Linked DNA regions of Homo sapiens: region 2 is linked to region 1. The links are contacts of gene promoters, found by promoter capture Hi-C in blood cells and fetal thymus (Javierre and others, 2016). All regions are on one chromosome and are shown on one strand. The core of a region is centred on a gene start or on the middle of the fragment in contact, and the rest is flanking DNA. Distances in the headings are between cores, read along the strand shown. Region 1 holds the start of GUCY2C-AS1 (GUCY2C antisense RNA 1). Region 2 overlaps ATF7IP (activating transcription factor 7 interacting protein).

What was found. The method cuts DNA at HindIII sites, captures the fragments that hold promoters and counts their contacts. A CHiCAGO score of 5 or more calls a contact.
Region 2: a contact is called between a fragment that was not itself captured here and the fragment with the promoter of GUCY2C-AS1 in region 1, in 1 of 17 cell types (total CD8 T cells). The highest score is 5.0, in total CD8 T cells.

Annotation. Positions count from the first base shown.
Region 1 is chr12:14,661,561-14,667,726 of GRCh38, forward strand. GUCY2C-AS1 (GUCY2C antisense RNA 1) reads left to right here and starts at 4,076. Exons shown (of 6, transcript NR_186173.1): 1 at 4,076-4,137; 2 at 4,299-4,453. All of the region lies in intron 10 of GUCY2C (guanylate cyclase 2C), which reads right to left. The HindIII fragment of the contact is 1,745 bases long and covers 3,045-4,789 here.
Region 2 is chr12:14,417,416-14,422,663 of GRCh38, forward strand. All of the region lies in intron 1 of ATF7IP (activating transcription factor 7 interacting protein), which reads left to right. Among named protein-coding and RNA genes, the nearest start is that of ATF7IP, 54 kb to the left of the region's middle. The HindIII fragment of the contact is 3,683 bases long and covers 1,013-4,695 here.

The sequences.
Region 1 (6,166 bases), core at 2,826-5,325:
CCCGAGAAGCTGGGATTACAGGTGTGCGCCACCATGCCCGGATAATTTTTGTATTTTTTGTAGAAATGGGGTTTCGCCATGTTGCTGGCCATGAACTCCCGGCCTCAAGCGATCCGCCAACCTCAGTCTCCCAAAGTGCTGGGATTACAGGCATGAGCCACCATACCCAACTAAGACAACTTGTTTTTAAATACAGAGCACATGCCGGAAGAAAAGTAAGTCAGTATAGAATATTAAGTGACAGTGTTGCATGCTGGTTCTTTCCAAGCTCTCCTGGGTTAGTGAGGGAAGTCAATGAAGAATGGGATTTTATTTACTAGAACACTAGTGGGTGGGTGGAGTTGTATAGATGGAGTAAGTGGAAAGACTCTCAGAAGAGTAAGTGGAATCCAGGAAAATGTGGATCCAACCCAAGGAAGCACTGAAGCAGTGTCTGAGTATACAAAGGAATACTCCTACACAGAGAAGGACAGCAACAAGAAGACTGCACGGGAAAGTCGTGGTTCATATATGCCGCAATGAATTCCCTATTAGGAAGTCAGTAGGTTCAAGAAGAAAAAATGGAATAGATTCCAAGCAATAGACAGAATGTGTAAGAAGCTGGGAAGTGATAGGAGTATGGTGAAGAAGACATGTTTCTTTATACAGCAAGGAAAGAAAAGAGAAATCCAATCAGGAATTCTAAGGAAAAAATGTTCAAGGAAGGCATAATCCAAAAATGAAACAAAGTAAAATGTGCCCTGACTTTGAGAATTAGGTATTAAAAAAGGAGAGAAAATCAATTTTCCTTTGTGGTACAAAAGGGAGACATTGGGGCTATATAGAAAGATGTTGGCCGGGTGCGGTGGCTCATACCTGTAATCCCAGCACTTTGGGGGGGCTGAGGGGCCGATCACCTGAGGTCAGGAGATCAAGACCAGCCTAGCCAACATGGCAAAACCCCATCTCTACTAAAAATACAAAAAATTATCTGGCCGTGGTGGTGGGTGCCTGTAATCCCAGCTATTCGGGAGGCTGAAGCAGGAGAATCGCTTGAACCCGGGAGGTGGAGGTTGTAGTGAGCCAAGATTGCACCACTGCTCTCCAGCCTGGGCGACACAATGAGACTCCGTCTCAAAAAAAAAAAAAAAAAAAGAAAGATGTTATCACGGTATACAATTTAGCTTTATATAAATAATATTCACATAATGAAAATGTTTCCTTGTTTTCAACTTATAGAATCAAGTTATAGGTAAAGAACAGAGGTCTTTATTTTGGTTACCAAATAAATATTATCAACCCTGGCAAAGAAAAATATAGGAGAATTTTGGAGATGGGAAGGAGGTAGAAGAAAGAATTGTGGCACTAACATCTTCATCTTACAAAGTGGGAGGCAAGATATTTTATATACAATTGATAGGACAACACTAGAAGCTCATGCATATTAATTAAAATGAAAAAGGTGTTCAATAATTGTACCGACAAAAAAGATATAACTATATGGGAAGAAGTGAGAAAGAGGGCTAGCGAAGATGAGCTAAATCTTCATGTATCAATACAAAAAATTAATAGATAACTGCTAAAGCTTATAAATCAAGAAATAGAAGCATATTATTTAGATATGCAAAACAGTAAAAGCAGAAGTGACTGAGAGAGCAGAGATGCACAGAGGTGGGATCAGGTGCATTCACTTTCCATTATGAACACATCTGCTACTGGATTTTAAAATCATGTGTGTGAATTTTTCTTTTTATTTTTCTGAGACAGAGTTTTGCTCTTTTTGCCCAGGCTGGCATGCAATGGCACGATCTCGGCTCACCGCAACCTCCACCCTCCAGGTTCAAAGATTCTCCTGCCTCAGCCTCCCAAGTATCTGGGATTACAGGCGCACGCCACCATGTCCAGCTAATTTTTTGTATTTTTAGTAGAGGTGGGGTTTCATCACGTTGGCCAGGCTGGTCTCGAACTCCTGACCTCAGGTGATCAGCCCACCTTGGTCTCCCAAAGTGCTGGGATTACAGGCGTGAGCCACTGTGCCCAGCCATGTGTGAATTTTTCTGTGCTAAAATATAATTGATGTAGGTGCCCCGAAAATGAGGTTTTAGGACTTCTTTATGAAAGCAGAATCCTAAACCTTCACACTGTATTCTCTATCATGACACCATAATCTAAACTCCTGGGGGCACAGTCCATGTCCTACTTATTCATTCCTGTTCATCCTTACACCTTTGGCACCCAGCACAAGACCTGGTAAAGTATCAATAAAAATGGCTAATAAAAAATAATAGAAGAAAAACCTGGCCCTGGTCATCTTATTGCCTGAGAAGAGGCAAGGAGAAGGTGCTTGGACATTAAAATACATAAATAAATTCATATAGAAAGACTCCTGTGCCATTAGGGGTCTCATGTCATATGTATTTTAAAACTGTTTTTGTTTAATCATATTATGTCCTTCTGAAGTAGATGGTTTAGCTTGGGGTAAACACTACAGCTCCTTTGTATAAGGGCTGAATTTGAAGGGTTTATGCTTTGCAGACATGTGACTTTGCCTCTATTACCTTGTTTTGTGTTCATGGGAAATTTTCAATGGTGAAAATGTGAACTTTGGATTTCTACTCTCATCGGGGCAGAAATAAATTCATACTTTGGAGTTGAACTTGCATTATGGGCACATTTAACTGGTGAATTCTGTTTGTTACTACAATCACCACTTCCATCACTATCACCACTATTGCCACTCCCACCATTCTCACGCCCTAAACCCCAGAAAACGAAAGTGAGTACAAGAAATACATTTTCAACAGTGTAGATAATCCCACTCACTGGTCTATCAAAATTGCACATCCCCTAGACTAGAGTATAAACTGGAGGGAATATGGGGACTCCTCAGCCCACCTCAATTCTCTGCCTCCTACAGTATGAACATCTCACTGTATTAGATATAATTATAATATTTATATATAGTATTTAAATATACTATTTAAATGTAGTCATTTTTAATTAAACATGCTTTTCAGTTTTGCCTTTTAGATAAACGCAGTATCAAGTTCTAAATTCCAAGGTTAAGCTTCTGCTGCCTTCTGGTGGCTGCTGTAGTTATCACATTCTATTTAACTCATCTCACAATGAATGAGAGTTTATAACCTCAAGGTCATATGATATTACGGTTGGAAGGAACCTGATAAACTTCTTGATTTAACAGGGGAAGAAACTCACACTTAGAAAAGAGAAATAAATTGACTGAAATTAACAGAGTATAGATGAGTGCTGGAGTCCAGAGTAGAAATATATTCAGTTATCTCATGTTGTCATTCATTCATTCATTCATTCATTCATTTATTCATTCCAAGGCACTGTGTTGGGGCAAGGAAATATGAATAAGAATAAGCCCTGAGGGGGCGCGGTGTCTCACACCTGTAATCCCAGCACTTTGGGAAGCCAAGGCGGGTGGATCACGAGGTCAGGAGTTCGAGACCAGCCTGGCCAACATGGTGAAACCCCGTCTCCACTAAAAACATAAAAATTAGCCGGCCGCGGTGGCAGGTGCCTGTAATCAGTTCCAGCTACTTGGAAGGCTGAGGCAGGAGAATCTCTTGAACCTGGGAGGCGGAAGTTGCAGTGAGCCGAGATTGGGCCACTGCACTCCAGGCCGGGCAACACTGCGAGGCTCCGTCTCAGGAAAAAAAAAAAAAAAAAAAGCTAAGGAAAGTTGAGATTCCGGTTAAATCTTGAGGATGAGTAGATGTTTCCCACCTCTATGGAGAAGTGATAAATTCTATTCCGAGGGAGTAGCATAAATAAGGACACAGCGGCATAAATTTGCATGACGCTTTAAGGAAGTAGGGAGGAAGCTGAGAGCATGGGGAAGGGATAGGTGAGTAAAAGATAAGTAGGGAGATTACGGGCACTTTGTGCTGTATTAAGTAACTTGGACTGTATTCTGTAGGTAAAGCAGAGTTGCCAATTGACATGTTAGCAACAGTGCAGTGACATGATTGGACTTGTGCTTTCTTTCTGATAGCAGGATGGGTTGGATGGAAGTGGGCAGGACTAATGCAGGAAGTCAGTTTGACGTCATTTTTGTGATACAGGAAGCAGATGCTGAGGACTTGGATGAGGACGGGCACCAAATCTGCATTGTCCATTGCTATTTCCCAGGTGCTCAGAACATTGTCTGGCATTAAATAAATATCTTTGTTAAATAAATGAAAGAACAGGGATGGTGTAATCTCTTGGTGAAATGTTTTGTTACTTAGTAGCTGTGTACACACAGATGCAAGTTCCAGTCATGCATATCGTATTTCTATACTATTTCAAAGGTTGAGTTGCTGAAGCGGCTTCATTGTCTGGGGACATACCCAAGGTTCGTCATCGCGTGACGAGAAGATTAAGGACACAGACGCAAACACGGAGCGGGTCAAGTAGCGGAAAGTTTAATAGGCAGGAAAGAAGAGAACAGCTCACCGGTAGAGAGGTAGGAGGGCTCTGAAGGGAAAAAACCATGCTTGTGGTGGGAAGCAGTAGGTTATATAGGGAGGCTTCAGGAGGCGGTGTCTGATTTATATAGGGCCCAGGGGATTGGTTTGACCAGTGTGCCATTTACATAGCCCTGAAGAAACTGGCCCTCTCACCCTAATCTTTTATTATGCAAATGCGGCCTCTACCTGGCTGGCGCCATGACACCCACACATGTGGCTTTACCCGGCCGGCACAATGACACCCCCACACATGGCTACAAAGAAAAGGGAGGGGAAATCGCTATATTGGGTGGACCTGGCTTTTAGTACAGCTGCGGGCATTCATCTACGCAAGCTTCCAGCTTGCTTATTTATGCTTGCAGTTCAGCTTTTCAGGCTGCTTTTTGCTAGAAAAGAAATGGTTTGGAGACTGTTTTCAATTAAAAGAAAATGCCTGGCTGGGCGCCGTGGCTCATGCCTGTAATCTCAGAACTTTGGGAGGCCGAGGCAGGCGGATCACGTGAGGTCAGGAGTTCCAGACCAGCCAGCCCAACATGGCGAAACCCCGTCTCTACTAAAAATACAAAAATTAGCCGGGCGTGGCGGCAAACACCTGTAATTCCAGCTACTCGGGAGGCTGAGGCAGGAGAATCGCTTGAATCCGGGAGGCAGAGGTTGCAGTGAGCCAAGATTGCACCACTGTACTCCAGCCTGGGTGATACAGCCAGACAATGTCTCCAAAAAAAAAAAAAAAGAGTAAGAAAAGAAAAGAAAAAGCCTTACTGAGGACTCCTGTACCCTCGCTACCTGCCTAAATAATTTCTTTTTAACTCCTATATTATTGCTTCATTGGTAAAGTTTAGAGCTAAATGTAGTAAGTAACAGTTAAGTATTGAAAAGCTCTGGCTAACTGAGGTTGTTAGTTAACTGAGGCTGAAGTAAAGTTGCTCAGGATAATATAACGTCCCTGTAGGATATAGTATGAATATTTAATGTTCACTTTAGGAACACTTTTACACTGTTGGTGGGACTGTAAACTAGTTCAACCATTGAGGAAGTCAGTTCTCTTTAAGTAAAGAGAACTCTCTCAAAAAGTACTTTTTGAGAAGTTCAGCACTTTAGAAATCACAGACCTATTGAATAACCAAAATACCAAAAAACTTGAAGGAAATACATTAAAAACACAAACCTAACTTTGTCACTGACAGTTATAATTAAGAAGAAAGAAAAAATAATTTGAACTCAAAAAGTTACAAAAGAAGTTGAGAGTTGCAGAAGCCCATGAGAAAAGAGATATATTTCAGAAGTCAAGTTTGGTTTAAAACTAGAAAGCTTGAAGATGGTTCCAGAAAGTTTTAAAAGCTTATTAAATAAAACTCGACTTTAAAAAGCAATCATAGCAATAAATCTGAAGTCAGCTCAGGATTGCTTATTGTCTAGAAGAATGCCATCTTCATTCCCCCCTCCCTCATTTCGTTAATCAGCTGCTAATACCTGTTGGATAAAAGTACAGGAATCATTTTGGACTTAATTTGACTCATGGAGTGAAAGAAAACTAGAAACGCAGGTATAGCTCTGACACAAGCAAGCCCTTCAAACCAGAAATGTTCCCTTTATATCAGATCAAATTTTCAGAGTTTCTGGCTGTAGAGCGGGGCTGGTATAAAAATATTTGTAGCTTATAATTTTTAATACTTTTTGAAAATAAGAAACTAATACAGAGTCATTGT
Region 2 (5,248 bases), core at 1,604-4,103, 250 kb before region 1:
TTTTGGAATCGGAAATCTGTAACAATAGTGGTAGATGGGTATGAAGATTTTTTTTTTACTTGTCTGGATTTAAGGTTTTGCTAGATTTATATATTTTATATGTATGGTCTATGGAATTTTTAAAAAGAAATTTACATTTGAATTTTGCATTGTATAGAAAAATATGTTCTTACGTATATTGTCCATGTTTGACTTATTCCTCAGGTAGGAAATTAATTTATATTAATGTATATTTCTTGAAATGTTCATGGATATTTATTAAAGCAAATAGCATAAAAGATGTAAATCTTATCCATTTATGTGTGTGGTATATTTAATGCGTGTTACGTGGATTTAGGGTTTTATGTAAACTGTGTTCTAGATTACTTATTTCAAACAAAGAACCACACTTAAGTATTGCAGATACAGTTTTTGTTTAACTATGTTTTTCTGACCTTATTGTCTGTCTCCTGTTGCTGGGCAGGAATCAGAATGCTGGCTGCTGATTGGCTGAGTTTGTGAGCAGCTCTTGAACAGCCATTTAAATTCTTGAGCTTTTTGAGCAGGCAGATTGTAGGCTAAGACATAACAGCTTCCCTTTGTTGTTTCATTGCTATGATCTCTTGCTAGAAAGAAGTGGGTGGAGGGGGATGAAGCAGAGAAGAGAGTAATGTTTTCATTTAAAGAAGAAGCTCGTTGGGCTTTCCTTAAAAATATTTTAAAAATAATTTACCAAAAATTTGAAAAAAAAATTTCCAAGCCAGAGAGACTTATTTGCAGGTAACATACCCTTCTCTGGTTATTTAAATATAAATTTCTATAGAAAAAGGTTTTATTAGTGATATTATTTTCCCAGAGTTCTTGAATATACAGAGACTTAAAAAACATTATTTTGACTCTCATCCTCATGAAAAAAATACTTTCAGGAGAAACTAGTTCATCATGTTTTGCAGTTACTTTTAGACATGGCAGACATCTTCTGCCGTAAAATACCAATGCTTTTTTCTGTGAAAATGAATTACAGTCATGTGAAAGCTTTCTGATTTGAGTTGCCACCTAAAATACTAACATTTATTTTATAGAATAGTTTTATGAATGGCATCTTAGTTCTAGGCGACAGTACTAAAATGATCCTTGGAAGTGTTTTGCACTGGTATTACAGCCATGGAAACTTGTTTGCAGGTAACACACCCTTCTCTAATGTGTATCTTTCTCAAATATGCTTCGCTAATGCAAAATACATTTCTAAAAGCAGACTGCTGATTGGTTTGTACAGATATGGCTGAACTAGTTTGAACTAATTGTTCGTGTTACTTCCTTATTGCTTTGTCTGTTTTTTATTATATTTAGAACCCATAAGATCTGGTAAATGGCTGTAGTGTGCTCCCTTGTGGGTATGGATGGTAGTTATTCTATAATTCTTTTTAGAGTGCTTTATTATTACTGAAGTTAATGACAATTTTATTGATAAAATCAACTTTTCTTGAATTATATATTTTTATTAAATATTATTTGGTGGTGGCAATTTAATATTAACTGTGAGGTTTACATGTTGGATTTTCTAATTTATATAAAAAATACCAAAGAGGAATTTGTCTTAGACTCTTTAGTTTATTCCTAAAAACATTATCCTGAATATTTAGTTTATTCCTAAAAACGTTATCCTGAATATATAGATGGTGATGGTTATACCATTTATTGAGTTCTTACTACATTCCAAGTGCTTAATGTATAGAATCTCATTTAGTTCTCATGGCAACCTTTGTGACAGGTGTTGGTATTAGTCCCTTTTTAAGGTAACCAAAACTAAGAAATTGATGTTAGGTAATTTGCCCAGTCTCACACAGTAGGTTTCCTGGGAGAGTTGGAATTCAAATCTGTGAATCTGTCTACAGTCTACAGAGTTCATGTTCTTAATTGGGTTATTAAAAGTGATGAATTTTTTTAAAGGAATGCTTACTTTTAATGTAAGAGTTCATGTTCTTAATTGGGTTATTAAAAGTTATGAATTTTTTAAAAGGAATACTTTTAATGCAATTGGTAATAACTACCAGCTGTCCATCTAATATCTGAGAAATGCGGATATTATGAGGCTAAAGTTCAAAAGAATGGCCTTTCAGTATTTTGAAATACTTAAAGGGTAACTATACTACTTATATTATAAACTTAATTATTTTGTAGTTTTGGAATTAGTAAGGAAAAGTGACAGCAAAATACAATGCATTGTATCTGTATCTTTTGCAGAAAATTTTGCAGTTAGCAAAACTTTGTAATGATGGGAAGGGAAAAACCTTGAAGGTGTGAAATTTTAGTCTGTAATTAAAAACCCTTAACATAATGTTTTGTATTATATTATACAAATTTTGTATAATTTTGTATTAAGGTTTTGTATTATTATATATACATTTTGTATTAAGGTTTCTGTTTAAATGAAGAGTAATTTTTCTAAATAGTTGATTTAGTTATATAATTTAAATAAAATGGCTAGAATAAGAAATATGTTCTAAGTAATTGGCTTAAAGTGAGAGAATGAATACAGAATGTATCACAGTCTAGAAATTCTCTGACAAAGTGCTAGAATCTCAAGCTGAATTGGCTTCCAGCAAGTAGGCTAGGCTTATTATTTTATGCGCTTCAGCCAAAGACCAGCAGGAACACCTTTGTAATTGAAAAAGTTAGGTTTACTATTTGCTGCAGGGAGGAAATAATGTTCACTATGGGGAAACTGTAAGGCACATCAATCAGTAAGAGGATGTTAGAAAAAACCTAGTATAGGATTTGAGTATAGTATAGGTTGGGTTATTTTGGGGAGAGATTAAGGAAGTAGATCCTTATCGTGGATTGGGTGACATCAGAAAGTGGGGGCACTTCTATTCTTGGGTATCTCAATAAATTTTATCTATATAGGGAGGACAGACTATTACAAGATAAAGCTGTAATTGATAAAGAAGTTGGCCTGGTGTGGTGGCTCACACCTGTAATCCCAGCACTTTGGGAGGCCGAGGCAGGTGGATCACGAGGTCAGAAGATCAAGACCATCCTGGCTAACACGGTAAAACCTCATCTCTACTAAAAATACAAAAAATTAGCCGGGCGTGGTGGCGGGCGCCTGTGGTCCCAGCTACTCGGAAGGCTGAGGTAGGAGAATGGCATGCACCCAGGAGGTGGAGCTTGCGGTGAGCCGAGATCACGCCACTGCACTCCAGCCTGGGCGACAGAGCGAGACTCCGTCTCAAAAAGAAAAAAAAAATAAAGAAATAGCCATCACTCATTTAGTGAGGGGGGATGTTTGGAATTTTGTGGGTTGCACAGTGACCTTGTCTGACTTGAATGTTCTCTGAGTTGGTTTTATGTCCAACCAGAGAACAGCATGGCTTAACTGTAAGCATCAGATCCATTAACAACATTGAGCCCTAACTGTGAGTATCAGTTAAGTTTCCAGGCATCAGGGGCTGCTTTTCTTTCTTTCTCAGGCCAAAGCAAATGTATTCTACCATATCATTCCTACTGGTGATGGTAATGGTAAGTGACTATCCAATGTGAAAACAGTATTCCTGCCTCCTGTACATCTTAGTCCTTAAAGCAATTTTGTTTTATTCTACTATTGATTGATGACATTGTTTTTCTTCAGAACCACATCCTTGTGCTCTTTTGTTTGCCTTTATTGCACTGGCCAGATGTTAACAAGGAAATGGTTACAGGAAACATCCTTGTTTTCTTCTGATCCTATTTCAATATCAGACATGATATCTCTAGTTTTCTTGGTAGATAACCTTTATCAGATTTGAGTAAGTTTCCTTGTATTCTTAGTTTCTGGCAAGTTGTAATTATGCATCAGTCTTGAATTTTGTCAAATGAATATTCTGTATTTGTTGAGGTAATCCTTTGTTGATTTTGTCCCTCTGTTCTGTTTATGTGGTGAATTAAATAGCTTGATTTGTTTTGTGGTTTTCTTTTTTGCTTAACAGAAGTTTATCGTCTCAGAGTTCTGGAGGCAACACATTTGAAATCACGGTGTTGTCATTGCCATTCTCCCTCTGAGGGTGCTGAGGGAAGGATCTGTTCCAGGCCTCTCTCCTAGCTTCTGGTAGTTGCTTGGCTTGTGGTACCATAACTTCAATTGTCACATGGCATTCTCCCAGTGTGCATGTCTGTCTGTGTCCAGATTTTCCCCTTTTTATAAGGACACCAATTGTATTGGATTAGGGCTCACTTTAGTACCCTTATATTACCTTGATTACCACTGTAAAGGCCCTATCCGAATAAGGTCACATTCTGAGGTACTGGGGCTTAAGACTAATATCTTTCTGGGGATGTGGGGTGTGGGATGCTGCACAATTCAGTCAGTAACATCCTGGTACCAGACATTCAGTTTAGGCAAAACTCGTAATTGTACACTCTGCTGGGCATGAAATAAAGTCAGAATGCATCATGGCTTGTTCATGGTCAACACTGCTTGATTTTTGAATGTGAAATCAGCCTTGTATTTTTCTAAGCGAGCTTCACTTGGTCAGAATTCATTACCTTTTTAAGAAACCTACTTCTAAATAAGTCATAGATGAAAGAAGAAATCATGATGGAAATTAGAAAATATTTTAACAGAATAATGTAAATGACACATTAAAATGTGAGATGCAACTAAAGCAGCTCTTAGAGGGAAATTTATAGCTTTATATGCACACATTACAAAAGAAGAAAGATTGAAAATAACACTTAAGCTTGAATCTCAAGGAAAAGGATGACATGTTAAGCTCTTTCCAAGAAAAAGTAAGTGAAAAGAGATAATAAATATTAGAGTAAATAATTAAAACAAGAAAGCAGATATAAAACCAAGAAATATCAGCCAAGTAAAGGTTCATACTTTAATAAGTGAATAGAATTGATAAAACTGTAGCACAACTTACCAAAAAAAGAGAATACACACACACACACACACACACACACACACACACACACACACACAACCTTTGTATTTATTTTGAAATTTTTTTGTAGTGGCATTACTGAGATAAAACCACATATCTACTATTCACCCACTTAAAGTACAATTCAGTTATTTTTAGTATATTCACAGAGCTGTATAATCATCACCATAATCAATGTTAGAACATTTTCATAACCCTGTAAAGAAATCCTGTACCCTTTAGCAGCTACTCCTCATTTTCTCCAGAATCTTCCAACCCTAGGTAGTCACTGATTTACTTTCTGTCTCTAGATTTGCCTACTCTGGACATTTCATATAAATTGAATCATTCAGTATGTGGCCTTT